Regions from separate parts of the Homo sapiens genome. Here all the other regions are linked to region 5. The links are contacts of gene promoters, found by promoter capture Hi-C in blood cells and fetal thymus (Javierre and others, 2016). All regions are on one chromosome and are shown on one strand. The core of a region is centred on a gene start or on the middle of the fragment in contact, and the rest is flanking DNA. Distances in the headings are between cores, read along the strand shown.

Region 1 (3,672 bases), core at 513-3,012, 960 kb before region 5:
AATACAATTACAGATAGTTTTAAATTTTATAAGGTGGTCAGAGACAGAGACATTGGGTAACAGTAACAAGATGGGAGAGAAAACAGACTGCAAACACACCAGAGACACAAAGAGAAAAACTAAAATATACATAAAATGTATATCGGAGATACATGAGGTTAACATCTTGAGCTTTTGAGGATGTTGCTACTAAAGATACAAAATCATAGATTGTTTTGGACATAAAAAGCCTGAATATAACATTATTGCCTGCTGTTCCAGTTAACAAAAAAACAAAGAGCAATCATCAATCACACCCCACACACACATCTGACTTGTTTTGAATATCTTCAATGTTACTAAGTTAACAAATAATAAGTTACCCTTCACTCAGACTCTTATCCTTACAATTCTCTAAGGTACCCTTTATCACCTCTATCTGGCAAATAAAAAAGCTCTCAGAGGTTCAGTGACTTACTTAACCCAGACTACAAGACTGGTATGTGACAGAGCTGTAATTCAAAATCACTATGGCTCTGAAGCCCACATTTTTATCCAATACACCATGCCCTCTCCCAGGACATAAGACTGTTAAGTTTTTAGCCACCATCATGTTTTTACATACTCATGTTTTCTTACTGTGCTATCCCCAGAGTAATACTTAAGTTTAGATACTTTAAATTTCATGGAATCCATTAATAATTTACATCGCTCTTTTAAAACAATGCAGATCTTGCTAGCAGTAAGGAATAAATTTATTCTTTAAAAAAACAAAACAAAAACACTCAAAGTAGTTGAGTATCCCCTCAGAATGACAGACAGTACCAATAATCTCCTAATATTCTCAACTTTATTACCTAGCCTTTTAATTATACTAGATCTTTTTGTGGCATAACCTTACGGAGATAGCAGATGTTCATAAATACCTAAGTTATTTCTCCATTATTCACACTGTGGAGTCACATCATATATGCACTTAATTAAAACCAATTCAACTACTTACACTCTGGGGGGAAGCAACAGAGAAAAATAATTTGAATAATGATGATAGTATGCCTTCCTTTACATCCCTGTCCCAGAGTGAGCATGAAATGAAGACTATAAATCCGCTATGCTCAGTCAATCTAAGACCCATTCACCTGTCAAAACGGTCTCACACAGCTGGTGAGGATTCCAGCTCACCAAAAAAGGGACCTCTCTAAAACTACAGGAAAAACTGGACACTAGAATTGAAAGACAGAATGTCAGTTTCCAACCAGTTTTCAAACTGGTGCCTTTTTAAAAGACTTTTTCCAAGGGTAATTTTGACTACACAGGATTTTTATCTGAGAATTTAGGCCCAAAGGCCCCATGAGCAGTGATTGCACTTTATTCAGCTCTTTAGATCAATCAGAAAAAAATCAGGACCCAAAACACTTGTCTTTTATATCAAAATAAATAACTAAAATATATTTCATCCTATTTCACAAATGGAAAAAAAAAAAAACAGAGCAACAGGGATGCTATGAAGAAACCACCCTTAGACACATATGTGGGAGCAATTCCATGACTCATTTTAAACAAACTAAAAATAGTTTGTTTCAAGAAGTCTGTCAAGCAAGCAAAGGCAACCCTTAAAAGTTGGCTCTCACTGGAAAAAAAAAATGCAAAAGTTTTGAGATGTGCCATTACTACAGAGTACAAAATTAAAGCAAGGGTGAAAGGAACACCCAAGCTAGAGAAAGGATCTGGGGTTAGACCATAAAGGATCCTTTATGCTGTCACTTACTTCACTTTCCTCTTCTCTAAAAAGGCACTAATCTAAATAATCCATGATCTCTCCGCATTATTTTCCAGTCTCACACCTCTTTATTTCAATGTTCAACTCCTTTGTGAAAAAAAAATAAGAAAAACTCACTGAGCTAGAACCATCTTTCACCTTACCACCCAACATCAGTTACAAGTATTTTTACTTCAAACTTGAGAAAGATTCTGTAGACATCAGCAATTTCCAGACCACATAATTAGGAAATTCTACTTTACATACTTAAGTGACTTTTTCTGGAAATTTAATTTCTTATCTAACTAGTCTCTGAGTGTCAATTGATCATTTAAAACCAAGATCCACAGGGAGTAAGTGTAAGAATCAACAAAAAAGACAAAATTCTGATTAACAGATTAATTTTGCGGTCTTGACGTTTACTATTCGAGTTAATGTTTTACCATCTCAGACTCTAGCAAAGGTTCCAATATGACCCTGTGGGTCTAAGATGTTAACAGATATGGTATTGGCATAGTTCCCTCTAGAGAATCATTTTATGGAAACTTTTCAGCAATCACCATCCTCAAACAACCTTCCTCAGTGTCAGACACTTATTTGGACAGTTCTCTCCTTTATTCCGTTTTTCTCCCTTCTTACTGATTACCATAAAGTCATTTTTTAAACTATCATAACAGTGATCATTTTTTCCAATTACCATTTACTCATGTCATCTCATTTTACCTCTATTTTTAACCTGATTAATACAAATTATTTTTGGTTGTTTTAAGACAAAGTCTTGCTTTGTCACTCAGGCTGGTCTCAAACTCCTGGCCTCAAGCCATCCTCCTGCCTTGGCCTCCCAAAGCACTGGGATTTCAAGCATGAGTCACTGTGCATAACCTACTAACACAAATCGTTTTAACTCCTTTTATAATCACTAGTTATCTAGTGATAACTGATTAACTGTGGACCTTCTTCTACCTTACAAATATCTACTTTTCTCCAGATTAATTTGAGCCCAGAACTTTTTCATTTTTTTAAACCTAAATCTTAATTAAAATTATGTGCCAGAAATCTGAGCCTCTCTTACTTCTCTACTCTCAAAATATGATGTTCAACAAAACTCAAACGAGAACCTAACAATTTCCTTGCTTCTTGCATGCTATTTGAACTTAAGTGGTTAATTAGAACATGGTTTTGGCTGGGCAAGGTGGCTCATGTCTGTAATTCCTACACTTTGGGAGGCTGAGGCAGGAGGATCACTTGAGGCCAGGAGTTCTGAGACAAGCCTGGGCAACAAACCGAGATACTCATCTCTACAAAAAAATTTTAAAGGCCGGGCGTGGTGGCTCACGCCTGTAATCCCAGCAGTCTGGAAGGCCGAGGCAGGCGGATCACAAGGTCAGGAGTTCAAGATCAGACTGGTCAACATGGTGAAACCCAGTCTCTACTAAAGATACAAAAAATTAGCCAGGCATGGTGGTGGGCACCTGTAATCCCAGCTACTCGGAAAGCTGAGGCAGGAGAATCGCTTGAACCCAGGAGGCGGAAGTTGCAGTGAGCGGAGATCGCGCCTCTGCACTCCAGCCAGGATGACAGTACAAGACTCCGTCTCAAAAAAAAAAAAAAAATTTTTTTTTAAATTAGCCAGACATGATGGCACACACCCGTTGTCCCAACTACCCTTGTTGCTGAGGCAGGAAGGTCGCCTGAGCCCAGGAACTCAAGGCTGCAGTGAGCCATGATCGTGCCACTACACTCTAGCCTGAGTGAGAGAGCGAGACTCTTTCTCTGGGGGGAAAAAAAAAGAAAAAAGGACGGGGTGCAGTGATAAATGCCTGTAACCCTAACACTTTGGGAGGCCAAGGCAGGCAGACTGCTTCAGTTCAGGAGTTTGAGACCAGCCTGGGCAACACGGTGAAAACCCACCTCTACAAAAAAAAAAAAAACTA
Region 2 (3,729 bases), core at 1-2,500, 790 kb before region 5:
GTGTGACAAACACTCTCTCCTCTCCAAAGGAAGAGGATAGTTTTTGATTAATCTAAAAAGACTCAGTTGTTTTTTCCCTTTTAAACAAGGCCTTAAGCTCCCACGACTTTTCCATATGAATTCATTTAAAATAGTAATTTAAAATATATCTGAAACAGACTTTAAAGATGACACATTTTTACCCTGAAAAGATTACGCATTTGTGATTCTAATTTAGAGATAAAGCAAGGGGAGTCTCTGTTTCTAATGCCTACAGTTAGGCAGGATTACTTTTCCTCCTTTGTCTCATCTCCCATAGTTTGTCCAAATTTTCCTTAAGCCACTAACAATATTCTACCTTGTACTAGAGTTATTCAAGTACATGCCTCATGTGCCCCAACAGACTGATGCTTCGTAAAGGGCAGGAGCCATCTCTATTTATGCCCTATCCTCCACAGCACCTAACCTAAGGCTACCTGCAATAAATGATTCATGTCTCACTATTAATTTACAGAGAAACTTAAAAGGCCAGGCGTGGTGGCTCACGCCTGTAATCCCAGCATTTTGGGAGGTCGAGGCAGGCAGATTATCTGAGGTCAAGAGTTTGAGACCAGCCTGGCCAACATGGTGAAACCCCATCTCTACCAAAAAAAAAAAAAAAAAATTAACTGGGCATGGTGGTACATGCCTGTTAATCCCAGCTACTCGGGAGGCTGAGGCAGGAGAATTGCTTGAACCCAGGAGGTGGAGGTTGCAGTGAGCAGAGATTGCACCACTGTACTCCAGCCTGGGTGACAGAGCGAGACTCCATCTCAAAAACAAAAAAAAAAGCTATACACTTTTTCATATATATGTATCTATGAATAAGCTGTGGCCTTAAGTGTAGTTATGAAGGGAATTTTACTCTACTTACAAGCCAGCGGATTAGTGTGCCAATTTCATGAAGTCTCCTATTTTCTGCTAGTATCTACAAAACAATAATAGACTAACTTATTAGCTTATAAGTAGAGTAAAATCTCAGACCTTGCAGTTTTTTTTTTCTTTCATTTTCTTTTTTCTTAAAGGCAAGAGTCTCGCTTTGTGGCCCAGGCTGGAGGGCAGTGGCACCATCTCAGCTCACTGCAACCTCCGCCTCCCAGGTTCAAGAGATTATCGTGCCTCAGCCTCCCGAGTAGCTGGGACTACAGGTGTGCACCACCACGCCCAGCTAATTTTTGTATTTTTAGTAGAGACAGGGTTTCGCCATGTTGGCCAGGCTGGTCTCAAAACCTGGCCTTAAGTGATCCGCCTGCCACAGCCTCCCAAAGTGTTGGGGTTACAGGCATGAACCACCACACCTGGCCCCTGCATAGTTCTTAACAAATCCATCTTTGAGTCTTTTTTCCATGCTGGGCACTGTCCTAGATGCTTTATGTAAGTTAATTCATTATGCTGCTGAGAGGTAGCAGAGTTCCTAATTTACTGCTTACTAGCTATAAGAGCTTAGATAAATTATTTAACTTCTCTGTGCCTCAGTTTCCTCAAGTTTGAGGAAATGGGAATAACAGCAGTATCTGCCTTAAGCGTTGCTTTTTGAGGACTAAAAGGTATTTGGTAAGGGTTTAGAAAAGCACATAGCAAGTATTCAATATATGTTAGCTATACTGATTAAATATAATCAACCGTGAGATAGATTTTCCCCCACTTAGAGAAAAGGAAAGTATTTGGGAAGGTTAAGCAAGTTTTCCAAGGTCATTCAAACGGTTACATGGCATTGTTAAATAGGTTTGCAACTTGGAACTGAGTATCTGAAACCTGGATTCTCCCATTTCTTCAAGGCTACACTGCTGAAATCAGGAAATGAGGTTCTATTCTGAAGTTCTCATGCTATCTCACAGTATAAACTTGTGCAGATCACTAGTATTTTCAATTCTTCATCAAATCTGAATCCCTCAAATGCCCAAAATAAACCTGAAGCCCTAATATGCACGTAATAACTAGAGTGTTTCCAAAGCAGAAAGGATATTAGTGATACAGGAGGAACATGATCTCTCATCTGATCAATTGGGAGGATTCCGCTGCAAGTCATTTCTGCCTTGGTAGACACAAAAGATGGCATCACCAAGCCAGGACAGTCACACAGGCAGAGGCCAGGCTCCACATAGAGAGTCTGGAAGACAAGCAAGAGGTTTGAGCTGGGTATACAACAGATAAAAGGAAGAAAGAGCTGCATGCAAGTGGCAAAGCACCACAGAAATACCTGAAAGTGCTTTGTGTGACCAGGTGTGGCAGACACAGATACTTTCTTGTTGCCCATGATGGTGTTGATTGTTGAACTCTTACCAACATTAGGGTAGCCCACCTAGAAGAGACTCAGAAGTTACCAAACAGTAAAACAGTACATCTATCAAAAGACTCAAAGATATGACATAGATGGTGGCAAGACTAGCATAAGCATCTGGTTACTTTAGAAAATTATTTGAAATCCATGCTGTGTTTGTTGAGACATCTTTTTTCTCCTGTGGTGTGGGTATATTTATTCAGACACATCTCCAGTGACAAATGGCCAAGTTATGCACATTTTAATATTATATGTTTTGCTGTTAACAGCAGATGCTACAGAAAATTTCATCCCCTTGTTCCCAGCCTTCCCTCACTGCCCCATCTACAGACAGTGGTTTCCATCGCATCTTCCACACTGGGTGAGGCTGATCGGATGGACATTTGAATAATCACAACACACAATTATTTTTAATTTTCAGTCACGTTTTAGTTAAAGCCAAGTGGAATGTCTGGCATGTGGCAGGTGATCAATAAGTGTCTGCAGAATTTCTAGAGTAAGAAATTCAGAAAATGAGGGAGGATGCTCAGTTTTTCCATAAATGTGAGAAAACTTGTAGAGAAGCTGAACTTTCTGATACAAATTTTTAGCAACAATATAGAGAATGAAGCTTTAAAGCTCAGAGACATTAAGCAACTTTCCCCGTGTTCCTAACAAGTTAGTTCTACTGCTGAATTGGGAATTACACCTAGGTCTGTCTGATTCCACAGACAGCTCTTTTAACTACTGCACTAAAATAAGATGCTAATCTACTGTAGTCATTTTAAACAGGCATTTTGGGGCAGGGGGTTGGGGCAGAGAGAAGGGGGCTCAAAACTAACTAGGATTAGCTACACTTAGCATGTAACTGAAAAGCTGGGAGACTTTAAACATGCCATGACCTCCTTTCCCTCACTGTTATATTCTGGATAGGTCTTTATAATCAATACCTTCTCTAACATCTCACATCTCCTTAGCTAAGGATGGGGCCATCTAGAGCCATGTCGTAGCCCCTCGGGGTTTGCGCACTTCCGCAGCCACTTCTGGAATTAGGGTATGTAAGGCTGGGGATGGGATCTGCTTTCCCCTATCTACTATGCAGTGTTTATGCAACTAATGCATTTGTCATATTTCGTCCAGCCCCAAGATGCTGGGATTCTCCCTATTAAGCATCTGGAACATTTACAGCATAAGCTGGCAAGGATCACAGGGTGCCCAAAGAACACTGGGCTGAAGTCTGAAGACAACATTAACATCTCTCTCATTCTGCTGTCTTGGTACTTCACACGGCAGGAAAAGCTGAACTGAAAGGAGACTGGAGAATACATTCAATGTGAATAGGTATGTTACCAACACAGGCCTTGAGGAAGTTGATTCCTTTGAGTTGGGCTCTGTCTATCCCACTGCCTAATCCCGTGATGCCAGTGGGCAACAAGAGGGCAATGTTCCCT
Region 3 (3,619 bases), core at 666-3,165, 750 kb before region 5:
TCTAGTTTGGCTACACCCGATCAGCTGGAAGTTGTAATAAGATGCTGCCAAAACTGTGCCTTCTGCAAATTATATTTTCCTTTTGCCCCTTGAGGCCTCTCTTCCTGTGTTGCAGAAATGGATCTCACTCCTGGCCTTCCCTGGTGTCCTGAGGCCACTTTGCTTTGTTTTCATCATAAATATGTTCTGAGCAGCTAGACCCAGAAATCCTAAGGAGTCTGGAATTCACTGGAACCATAGAGGAAAGAGGGGTGAAAGATTTTCTTCCTAATTAACAGGAATGGTTCAGGCATAGAACTATCTTTAAAAAAGAAAAGCAAAGGGGGCGAGTGGAAAATATGTGTGTGTGTGTGTGTGTGTGTGTGTGTGTGTATATATATATATATTTTTTTTTTTTTTTTGAGACGGAGTTTCACTCTTGTCACCCAGGCTGGAGTGCAATGGTGCAATCTCAGCTCACCGCAACCTCCACCTCCCGGGTTCAAGCGATTCTCCTGCCTCAGCCTCCCAAGTAGCTGGGATTACAGGCATGCGCCACCACGCCGGGCTAATTTTGTATTTTTAGTAGAGATGGGGTTTCTCCATGTTGGTCAGGCTGGTTTCAAACTCCCGACCTCAGGTGATCTGCCCACCTTAGCCTACCAAAGTGCTGGCATTACAGGCGTGAGCCACTGTACCCAGCTGAGTGGAAAACATTTAAAAAAAATTCAGTCTTAAGGGCCTTAGGACGTCCAGGCCTTTGAATCTATTATATTTTGGCTTGGTTGTGCGTCCCGATCCCTCTCCCTGAATACCTCAGATACACATCATTGAATGACATTAAAAACCCCAGCTAGAGAGAGGTCAGGAAAGTCCAGTCTCAGCCCAGCCACCCATCCCAGCCCTTCCACACCAGTGTGCTCACCTGATAAGCAGACGGCTGTGTGGGCCATCACTAGCCTGCGTGACTAGATTTCACATTTGAAATTATTCCCATGCATAGCCAAGTTCCTCTGCTGTTTGAAACTGATGAAGAGATGAGACAGAGTGAAGATAATATGGCTAATACTTGGGAGACAGGGCAGGGTCTGTGTGTCTTCATTCTTATCTAGTTTAAGTGTCCTGTGAGAATGCCAATGTTGGCTTTCATCTGTGACTGACAGGCATGTGGTGGTTGGTCCAAAAGTTCAGGCAAATAGTGTTGAAACCAACACCATCAATAAATATAAAGCAGCCATCTCTTTAAAGTCTGATATTTCCTCTCATGTGATTTATAAATAGGAAGGGGGGCTTGAAGGTTGAGGAGGAGGAAGAAGAAAATAAGCAGGCTGGAAAGAGCCAGCTCCCTTCCTCCTCCGTCTGTGCCCTCCCCATCTCTCCTTCCTCCCCTCTGCTTTTTGGCATCGATCCCCACTGCACCTCAGAGCTCTGACTGATGTAATTCTAGAAGAGATGTGAAGGTGACACGTGATTCACCTCTTCTGACTTCTCAGTCTTCCAGGGATGATATCACTAGAGTAAGAAGAGATGTTTTGAATGAAAATAAAAGAAAGACCCTAAAACTACTTTGCTCCTGGAGCTCAGAGGGAAAAGAATGGAGCGACAAAAGCAAAGCTAAGTCATTAGATAAAATACACCTTCCAGAAAACACCTGAAGTCTGGTTTACTCATCAAATTTAGCTTTTCTTTCCTGCAAAGTGAGGCTCATGTTTCTCCATGACTTAACCTGATGGTACTTTAAATGCACTGAGACACTTTCCACGTTCTTTCCCAGCCTAGGTAATCCTCCGTGTTCAACAATGCAGCATCGACTGCATGAAAAACAGGGTGACTCCCGGCGGCACGCGGTCCTCCAGGGGTGGCAGCGTGAGTCTGGGAGGAGGCATTCATCGACTCCTCACAGCACAAACATCCCATGTTCACTTCTACCATTTGTCGCATATGTAAGCAGGAAGGTGGGAGGAATAAAATGGCATAAAATAAACAATAGTATTTCATACCCTCCCAACTATGACAGCTTCAGAGAACCCCCTCCACACACACGTGTGTGGACACACATGGTTTCCCTAAAGAAACACCTCTCACTGCCCCACAGTCAGCAGAACAGATTTTAACCAAATTAGAAAGGCTCTGTTATACTAAGAAAGCACAATTCCCTCCCAGGGGACAGAGCTGTTTTTGAGGGTTCTGCTTGTGAGTAGAGAGAGAACTGGTTGGAAGAATCTACCCCTGGCACCATACTGGAGATTTAAAAATCTCATTGTAGTTGCCAAGGATCACGAGAAACATAGAAATTCTATTAGGAGCAAGTTGCCGTCTTTTTAAACAGGATTTAGTAATTTAATAAGCAGAACTCTTTCCTCTGTGTGGTATGCATCAGTAGTCCCAGCATCTGCTGCTAAGTGATGCATGACAGAGCTAGAAATGTGCACGGACTGCTGGGGTAGGAGCCATGACTGACACATGGGGAACTACTCAGGGCTCCAGGCAGCCAGGAGGGTGCTAGGCCCAGGGCGCTCTGCACTCTCTGCTCCAGGCTTGTTGCACATGTCCACTGTCTTAGTCCGTTTCGTGTTGCTATAAAGAATACCTGAGGCTGGGTAATTTATTTATATTTATTGATTTATTTATTTTGAGACAGAGTTTCACTCTTGTTGCCCAGGCTAGAGTGCAATAGCATGACCTTGGCTCACCACAACCTCCATCTCCCGGGTTCAAGCGATTCTCCTGCCTCAGCCTCCCGAGTAGCTGGGAATATAGGTGCCCTCCACCTCACCCGGCTAATTTTGTGCTTTTTTTTTTTTTTAGTAGAAACAGGGTTTCACCATGTTGGTCAGGCTGGTCTTGAGCTCCTGACCTCAAGTGATCCACCCGCCTTGGCCTCCCGAAGTGCTGGGATTACAGGCATGAGCCACCATGCCTGGCAAGGCTGGGTAATTTATAAAGGAAAGAGGTTTATTTGGCTCAAGGTTCTGCAGGCTGTACAAGAAGTGTGGTGCCAGCTTCTGCTCTGGTGAGGCCTCAGGCTGCTTGCACTCATGGCGGGAGGTGAACTGGAGCAGGAATCAAATGGCAAGAGGAAGGAAGCAAGAGATAGGGAGAAGGGCAGTGCCAGGCTCTTTTGGACAACCTGCTCTCGAGTGAGAGAGAAATCACTCATTGCCTCCGTCTCCCCACAGGGAGAGCATTAACCTATTCATAAGGGATCCACCTCCATGACCCAAATACCTCCCATTAGGCCCCACCTCCAACACTGGGATCAAATTTCAAGAAGAGATTTGGGGGAACAAATATCCAAACTACAGCGGCCACACCTGGATCTGGCTTGACCAGTAGCCGGGGCCGTTTCTGTTCCTTCTGGCTCACCCCTGTTCGTAGGCCCAGTGTCCCCTAGACCAAACCCCCACTGCTTGCTCTAAAGCTCTTGTGACCCAGTTTGAGCGCCTTGACTAACCATCGTCTTGGTGGTTTGAATGGTGAGAAGATGGCCCTGGAACTTGGCACTCCTTCCTTCCTCTTTCTTGAGCTGCTCAGTGGTACCAGAAAAGGACCTTGTTTCTAACCCTCCATGGGGAGTGACATTTCTGAAGGCCTCCTCTTCTCCCCTCCTCTTCATCTCTACCCCTTCCTCCTTCTCCAG
Region 4 (3,289 bases), core at 1-2,500, 860 kb before region 5:
TCTCCTGCCTCAGCCTCCCGAATAGCTGGGATTACAGGTGCCCACCACCACACCCAGCTAATTTTTTTGTATTTTTAGTAGAGACAGGGTTTCACCGTGTTAGCCAGGATGTTCTCGATCTCCTGACCTCATCATCCGCCTGCCTCAGCCTCCCAAAGTGCTGGGATTACAGGCGTAAGCCACCACGCTGGCCCCATAGCTCAGACTTTTAACATTGAAAAAGTCTTGAAAGCCATCTGATCCAACTCTCTGGTCAATGGTAACATCTTCCCCAAACCATCTTTTAATTTTTGAGATGGAGTCTCGCTCTGTCTCCCAGGTAGAGTGCAGTGGTGCCAACTTGGCTCACTGCAGCCTCCGCCTCCTGGGTTCAATGGATTCTCCTGCCTCAGCCTCCCAACTAGCTGGGATTACAGGTGTGCGTCATGATGCCCGACTAATTTTTGTATTTTTAGTAGAGATGGGATTTCACCATGTTGGCCAGGCTGGTCTCAAACTCCTGGCCTGAAATGATCCACCCACCTTGGCCTCCCAAAGTGCTGGGATTACAGGTGTGAGGCACCGTGCCTGGCCCAAAACATCTCTATAGGTGGGTTGAGGCTGTGTTGGAATTACTCCAGTAACACGGAGCCCGTGCAACCATTGCAGCTCAGACAGGACCACATGAAAGCTCTCCTTTACCCTAACTTACAGTCTTTCTCTGTATCACATGCCCATTAGCTCAATCCTCTCCTCCTGAAGACCAATCCAAAGGCATCAGCTCCTTTCCACTCTGCGGGCTCTGTGCTACCACCCCTAACGTGACAAGACCAATATCCAGGACTGAGCCTAGGCCTTGCTTCCCACCCCGTGAAGTAGGAGGCTGCCAGCCCCTGCTCGGCTGGGACACTGACTCATTCGTGACAGTGTGGGTGAGTCACTGCTTGCCTACAAGGGGTCTACTTCCCGGTTAAGGTGCTATTAAAAGGGTAACAGCCTCTGCCACTCTGCTCACTCAGGAGACAGTGGAGCATCTAAGGTGTCTCAATCTTGCCTCCTCAGAAGTTCAAAGGTCTTTACTTATACAATCTCATAATAAAAATATACTCAGGACCTAAAAGACATCCTGATGACTTTTAAAGAAATATGGAACTAGACCTAAAACAGGGGATGCTAGCTGGGCTGGGTGGCACGTGCCTGTAGTCCCACCTACTAGGCTGGCTAAGGTGGGAGGATCGTTGAGCCAGGAGTTTGAGAACAGCTGGGCAACATAGCCAGACCCTGTGTCTTAAAGAAAAAAAAAGAGAGAGAATCTACAAAACTAACTGCTTCATGCTAAGGAAGTAATAATAATAACTGATACCTTTATAGCATTTGGGAGTGGAAAGGCCCTTTCATGGTTTGCTTTTAGTTTTTTTCTGTGTGTGTGTGTGTTTTTTTTTTTTTGGATGGAGTTTTGCTCTTGTTGCCCAGGCTGGAGTGTAATAGCACGATCTCAGCTCACTGCAAGCTCCACCTCCCTGGTTCAAGTGATTCTCCTGCCTCAGCCTCCTGAGTAGCTGGGATTACAGGCACCCACCACCATGCCCAGCTAATTTCTGTATTTTTAGTAGAAACGGGGTTTCACCATGTTGGCCATGCTGGTCTTGATCACCTCAGGTGATCCGCCCCTCTCAAAGTGCTGGGATCACAGGCGTGAGCCTCCACGCCCGGCATGGTTTCTAGTTTTTGGAGGCACCATAGAGTAAAGCAGGTAGAAGAGGAGTACACTTTTTTTCTTTCTTTCTTTTCTTTTTTTTTTAATGAACAAGAATAGGAGTCCCACAGTTGGTGAATGGTGGGAGTTAGGACTGGTCCCCATCAGAGCTGGCGTTCTGGAGACCACACAGGTGCTGACAGCCCCGGGCACTGATGTGCGTCAGCTCGGGCCGAGTGCTGGCTGCCCTGGCTGGGATTGGCAGCAGCACTTCTGAGCCTGGCGCTTTATTGTGTACTATCTTATCTCAATAGGAAAAGGCAATTCAGGGGAAGAATTTCCCTGTCACAGTGCTCCAGACTTTCCATTGTCCAGCTTTCTTAGTCCTGGGTCATCCCCTGGGTCTGACCATTACTCATATCCATGGAGGCACCTTATCAGGGCTGTCTAAGATATGGGGCCTATTTTTTTCTCAGTACCAGACAAACTGGAATTTATCCACCCTTTGTGGCCTGACATCACACGACAATTAGTCGGCCCAGAATCCAGCCACATTTGGGAAGCTGCTTGAAAAGCAGTCTCTAATAACCAGCTCTTTCCTTGCAAAGCCCTAGAATTTCAGGGTCCTCTGCTGGCAACAGTGGTGGAGATGCGTGGAGACCCCATCTCATGATGGGCCAACTGTGAGACTCTTTCTTTTTTTTTTTTTTTTTTTTTTTGAGATGGAGTCTCGCTCTGTTGCCCAGGCTGGGGTGCAGTGGTGCAATCTCAGCTCACTGCAGCTTCTGACTCCTGGGTTCAAGAAATTCTCCTACCTCAGCCTCCCGAGTAGCTGGGATTACAGGTGCCCACCACCACGCCTGGCTAATTTTTGTATTTTTAGTAGACAGGGTTTCACCACGTTGGCCAGGTTGGTCTCGAACTGCTGACCTCAGGTGATCCACCCGCCTCAGCCTCCCAAAGTGCAGGGATTATAGGCGTGAGCCACTGTGCCCGGCCTTTTTTTGTTTTTGAGATGGAGTTTCGCTCTTGTTGCCCAGGCTGGAGTGCAATGGCGCCATCTCAGCTCACCGCAACCTCCGCCTCCTGGCTCCAAGCAATTCTCCTGCCTCAGCCTCCTGAGTAGCTGGGATTACAGGCAGGTGCCACCACACCCGGCTAATTTTGTATTTTTAGTAGAAACAGGGTTTCTCCATGTTGGTGAGGCTGGTCTCGAACTCCTGACCTCAGGTGATCCACCTGCCTCGGCCTCCCAAAGTGCTGGGATTACAGGCGTGAGCCACGCCTGGCGAGAATCTTTCTTTACTCCTGTTCTTTCTCACCCAGCTGGCTTTGAAAAACTTCCAACCTACAGAAAAGATGAAAGAATAACGAACATGTTTATGCTATTCGCCTAGATTAATCCATTGTTCCCGTTTTTCCGTTTGCTTTGTCTCTCTCCAACTACCTGAAAAATTTATAATTTTTTTCTGCTGAAATATTTAAAAGTCAGTTGCTTGGGGCCAGGTGCGGTGGCTCACACCTGTAATCCCAGCACTTTGGGAGGCCAAGGCGGGAGGATCACGAGGTCAGGAGATCGAGACCATGGTGAAACCCCGTCTCTACTAAAAATAC
Region 5 (3,640 bases), core at 464-2,963:
TGGAAACCAACCTGCACGCCTGTCCTAGGAAATCTATTTGTGTCTCTTGAGTCCTTCAATAATGCAGAACATAAAAGTTTCAAAAATGAATCGCAACAACAGCTATCAAAGGAAGTGGGTTTTTTTAAATAATAGCCCTAGGCTCCAATAAAATTAATACCCAAAAATCATCAAAGGGCAAACGCAAAAAGCGTTCTTAAATTTTCTCTAAGTAGCAGTTCCTTAGTTTTACAATTCTTTTCTTTTTCGCTGAAAGGAGAATAAGAAATCCAATTAACAGTGTTAAGGATGAGAACAGTTAGTTCCCAGGCAGAGGATGCAATTTACAATCCAGGCTTGGCCCAGACATTAGCGGGCACACACACGCCAGTGCTCAGAGGAAGCTTCAAGAAATGTCACTATCTAACGGAAGTGTTAAGGCCTTATATTTGTAAGGACTATGACCAGCCCTGTAAATAAATACACTGTAAAACGCAACCTAGAAAAACTCCATTGTCCAAAACAACTCAAGACTTTCCTACTATCCTCAAAACAGAAAGAACCTGTGTCCTGGACGGCCTCAGGACGACCGCCTCTCACATAGAAAGAAGGGCAACCCATGTGAATCGGAGTGCCCCCATGTCAACTCTGTGACAGATCCACTGGGAGCATCCGACTGTGATCCGGGCCCTCCTGGGCAGAGGCTGCTGGAAGAGGAACACACAGGCAATCTTCACGGCCCTCCTACTTCCGTTCTCAAAACAGAAATGCACTTTTCTGCTAGTCCTCCGCCCTCAGCCCGGTACCTCTCGACAGCTGTGCCCCCTTCAACGAGCTTAAGTGGAAAGAAAAGCAGGTAGTCACCAACTAGGGTCCACGGAATGCGGTTGATCACAGCGCTTCCCCCCGCGATTCCCGCACGCATCCACCGCGGGCGCCCTCCGGAGAGTCGCTCTGGCCGGGGGCACCGCGAAGCAGAAGTCGGCGTCCCAGTTCGCCCCCTACTCTCTCCTCCCCGGGGAAGGGGGGCAGAAAAGCGCAAAGAGGAACTAAATGAACTGCAAGAGGATGCCCTGAAAGCTCCCTCAAAGAGGGGGTGGGGAGGGGGTGGAAACCAAGAAGGGGCGGAAGGAAGGGGGAAGGAAGAGCAGCCAGAGGAGGAAGGGGGCGAGAGCGAGCGCCCGCGAAGGGGACGGGACTTCGGGAGCGCGGCTGCACCCCATTTCCCCCAGCGGGAGAGGGTGCGCCGGCCTTCGGGGCGCTCCGCCCCGGCAGAGGGCAAGGAAAGAAATGAGAGGCGACGTCCCCGTCCCCGCCACTTCGTCGCCCCTCGGGAGGGCTCGGTGGGGACTGCAGTGCCCTCGCAGGGTGGGAAACGGCGGCAACAGCCGCTCGCCCCGTCGGAAGGAGCGGACGGCGGGGCCTCCTCCGGGTGCGCGGGCCCGGCTTTCACGCCCCCAGCGCCGGGAAGGCAGCTCCGCGGTGACGCCGGGCGGCCGTGCCGGTTACCTGAAGCGGGGCGAGTCCTTCAGACACTCCTCGAAATCCACAGTCATCTTCATCCTGCCTCCGCCTCGCAGGCGGCGCTGGCAAAGCCGAGGGGGCCGCGGGAGCGGCCGCGCTGGGACGCAGACGGCTACGGCGGGCGCACGGCCGCGACTAGCGTTGCGCGGAGCTGCGAAGGGCGCCTCGCCCGCTGGTCATAGCAGCCGCGAAGACGGCGACGACTAGTCAGGCCCCAGTCCCGCCCCTCTTCCTCCCGCCCCAAGTAGAGCGCTGGCCGCAGGGAAACGGCCGGGGAGTGACAGCAGCGGCCAGCCAGCCACGAACCTGGCGGCCAAGGGGCGGGGCATCCGGCAGCACCGCCTGCGGGCGCCCGGGCAACGGGTCTGAGCGACGGCAACCCGAGCCAATGAGCAGCGCGACCGTGGGCACCTCCTTGCCACAACCGCCCCCGAGGGCCAACCGGGATGCGCGGGCGTCGCTAGGCGGGACGCACCGGTTGCTGGGAGGCCGGCAGCTGAGGTTCCTTGGGAAGGAAGTCACGTGGCTGCGGCCGCGCTTCCCTCCGAGCCCCCGCCTCTTCTCCTGCTCCCCGAGCCCCGCCCTGCTGAGCTGCCAGCCCAGAGGAGCAGTCTCCTGCAGGTCTGAGGAAGGAAATTTGCTTTTCAAAGCAGATTGGCAGAAATCTGAAGAGGTTAGAGGCAGAAATTATAAAAGGAAGAGATAGGCTAAGCCACCTATTCCTTTCAGTTTAGAGAAACTGAGGCCAGAAGAGGAGCGAGGATAACTTTAGTGATAAAATCCATCTTTCATGTATTTGTTCCATAGCTTCATAATCTGGAAATTGCTCCCATGTACATCTTCTCATATAGCCAGAGACCACTTCCTGAAGGAGCTGCCGTTTGGGTTGGACATAGAAAGATTTAGGCAGGTATGGGAGGTAGGGTGCTTCGTGTGGAGGAACTCCTCTCAAAACTGCCGAAAGCATTCCCCCTCACTGACACTTTGCTCCTGGTGGTTTTCACTGTTCTGCCATGGTGGGGTTCTGAAGACCAGGCTCATCGTACTCACCTTGCAACACCTGCCCCTCTAATCCACACTTTTTCTAGAAGCACTTTAAGATACTTATCATCTGATCCTCACGGCAGGTATTTACCATACTCCTTCATTTTAAGATGCCATTGATTGTAAAAAGTACAAAGATGTCTTATATGTAATGAGTAATTTTTAAGCCAACCTAAAAAACACGGGCGTATCTATAAAAATGAATATACAGGGTGTTCTAACAGCATAGTGGCTCTGAGTGAGAATCTGGAGGCAAACTTCCTGGATTTAGGTCCCAGCTTTCTCACTTTAAAATGAACATAACACACAGATCTGATGAAGTTGTCCGGTTAACACAGTGCCACATATCGATCATTCAGTAAATGTTGGCTATTTTAATTGTACCATTTGCCTCTTCAGTACTATAATCAAAGGGCTTAAGTCTAAGTTCTCTCACTTTCACTGTCTGAAGTTTTTGTTTGTCTCAAAAACAATCAAACAATTTCGTTCCGTTCCCCAGGCTGGTCTCAAACTCATGGCCTCAAGTGATCCTTCTGTCTCAGCCTCCCAAAATGCTGAGATTACAGGTGTGAGCCACACACCCAGCCTTCTAAAGTCTTAATATAACTTTCTGACCGTCTGGCTAAGTATAGCGTGATGACATACTGTTTTTCGTAACCCATCAAGAGATATCTTGATCTCTTTAGCATCTTTAGAAATTAACAGTATAGACAGGGCATGGTGGCTCACACCTGTAATCCCAGCACTTTGGGAGGCCGAGGTGAGCAGATTCCTTGCTCCAGGAGTTCCAGACCAGCCTGGGCAACATGGTGAAATCCTGTCTCTACAACTCTACAAAAATATACAAAAAATTAGCCAGGCACATGCCTATAGTCCCAGTTACTCATGAGGCTGAGGTGGAAGGGTCACTTAAGCCTAGGAAGTCAAGACTGCAGTGAGCCATGATTGTGCCACTGCACTCCAGCCTGGGTAGACAGAGCAAAACACTGTATCAAAAGAAAAAAAAAGGAAAAAGGAAAATTAACAGTATAATTCTGAGGCATTTCAGAGAATATAGAAGCATTATATTCATTTATTCTTTGCTTATAAACTT

Evidence for each region. The method cuts DNA at HindIII sites, captures the fragments that hold promoters and counts their contacts. A CHiCAGO score of 5 or more calls a contact.
Region 1: a fragment that was not itself captured here is called in contact with the fragment with the promoter of ACAP2 in region 5 in 1 of 17 cell types (neutrophils); the score reaches 5.1 in neutrophils.
Region 2: a contact is called between a fragment that was not itself captured here and the fragment with the promoter of ACAP2 in region 5, in 1 of 17 cell types (naive CD8 T cells). The highest score is 6.9, in naive CD8 T cells.
Region 3: a contact is called between a fragment that was not itself captured here and the fragment with the promoter of ACAP2 in region 5, in 2 of 17 cell types (non-activated CD4 T cells and neutrophils). The highest score is 6.8, in non-activated CD4 T cells.
Region 4: a contact is called between a fragment that was not itself captured here and the fragment with the promoter of ACAP2 in region 5, in 1 of 17 cell types (neutrophils). The highest score is 5.8, in neutrophils.

What each region holds. Positions count from the first base shown.
Region 1 is chr3:194,479,772-194,483,443 of GRCh38, forward strand. All of the region lies in intron 2 of ATP13A3 (ATPase 13A3), which reads right to left. Among named protein-coding and RNA genes, the nearest start is that of ATP13A3, 5.4 kb to the right of the region's middle. The HindIII fragment of the contact is 8,673 bases long and covers 1-3,672 here.
Region 2 is chr3:194,648,897-194,652,625 of GRCh38, forward strand. LSG1 (large 60S subunit nuclear export GTPase 1) reads right to left here. Exons shown (of 14, transcript NM_018385.3): 9 at 2,219-2,320; 10 at 1,985-2,128. Among named protein-coding and RNA genes, the nearest start is that of TMEM44, 17 kb to the left of the region's middle. The HindIII fragment of the contact is 3,313 bases long and covers 1-2,907 here.
Region 3 is chr3:194,689,772-194,693,390 of GRCh38, forward strand. No RefSeq gene overlaps it. Among named protein-coding and RNA genes, the nearest start is that of FAM43A, 5.7 kb to the left of the region's middle. The HindIII fragment of the contact is 8,231 bases long and covers 1-3,619 here.
Region 4 is chr3:194,577,342-194,580,630 of GRCh38, forward strand. No RefSeq gene overlaps it. Among named protein-coding and RNA genes, the nearest start is that of TMEM44-AS1, 5.3 kb to the right of the region's middle. The HindIII fragment of the contact is 7,555 bases long and covers 1-3,289 here.
Region 5 is chr3:195,441,307-195,444,946 of GRCh38, forward strand. It overlaps ACAP2 (ArfGAP with coiled-coil, ankyrin repeat and PH domains 2), which reads right to left and starts at 1,714. Exons shown (of 23, transcript NM_012287.6): 1 at 1,489-1,714. The coding sequence starts at 1,541. RefSeq lists enhancers at 629-718, 1,258-1,757 and silencers at 1,169-1,218, 1,239-1,458, 1,579-2,078. The HindIII fragment of the contact is 4,201 bases long and covers 382-3,640 here.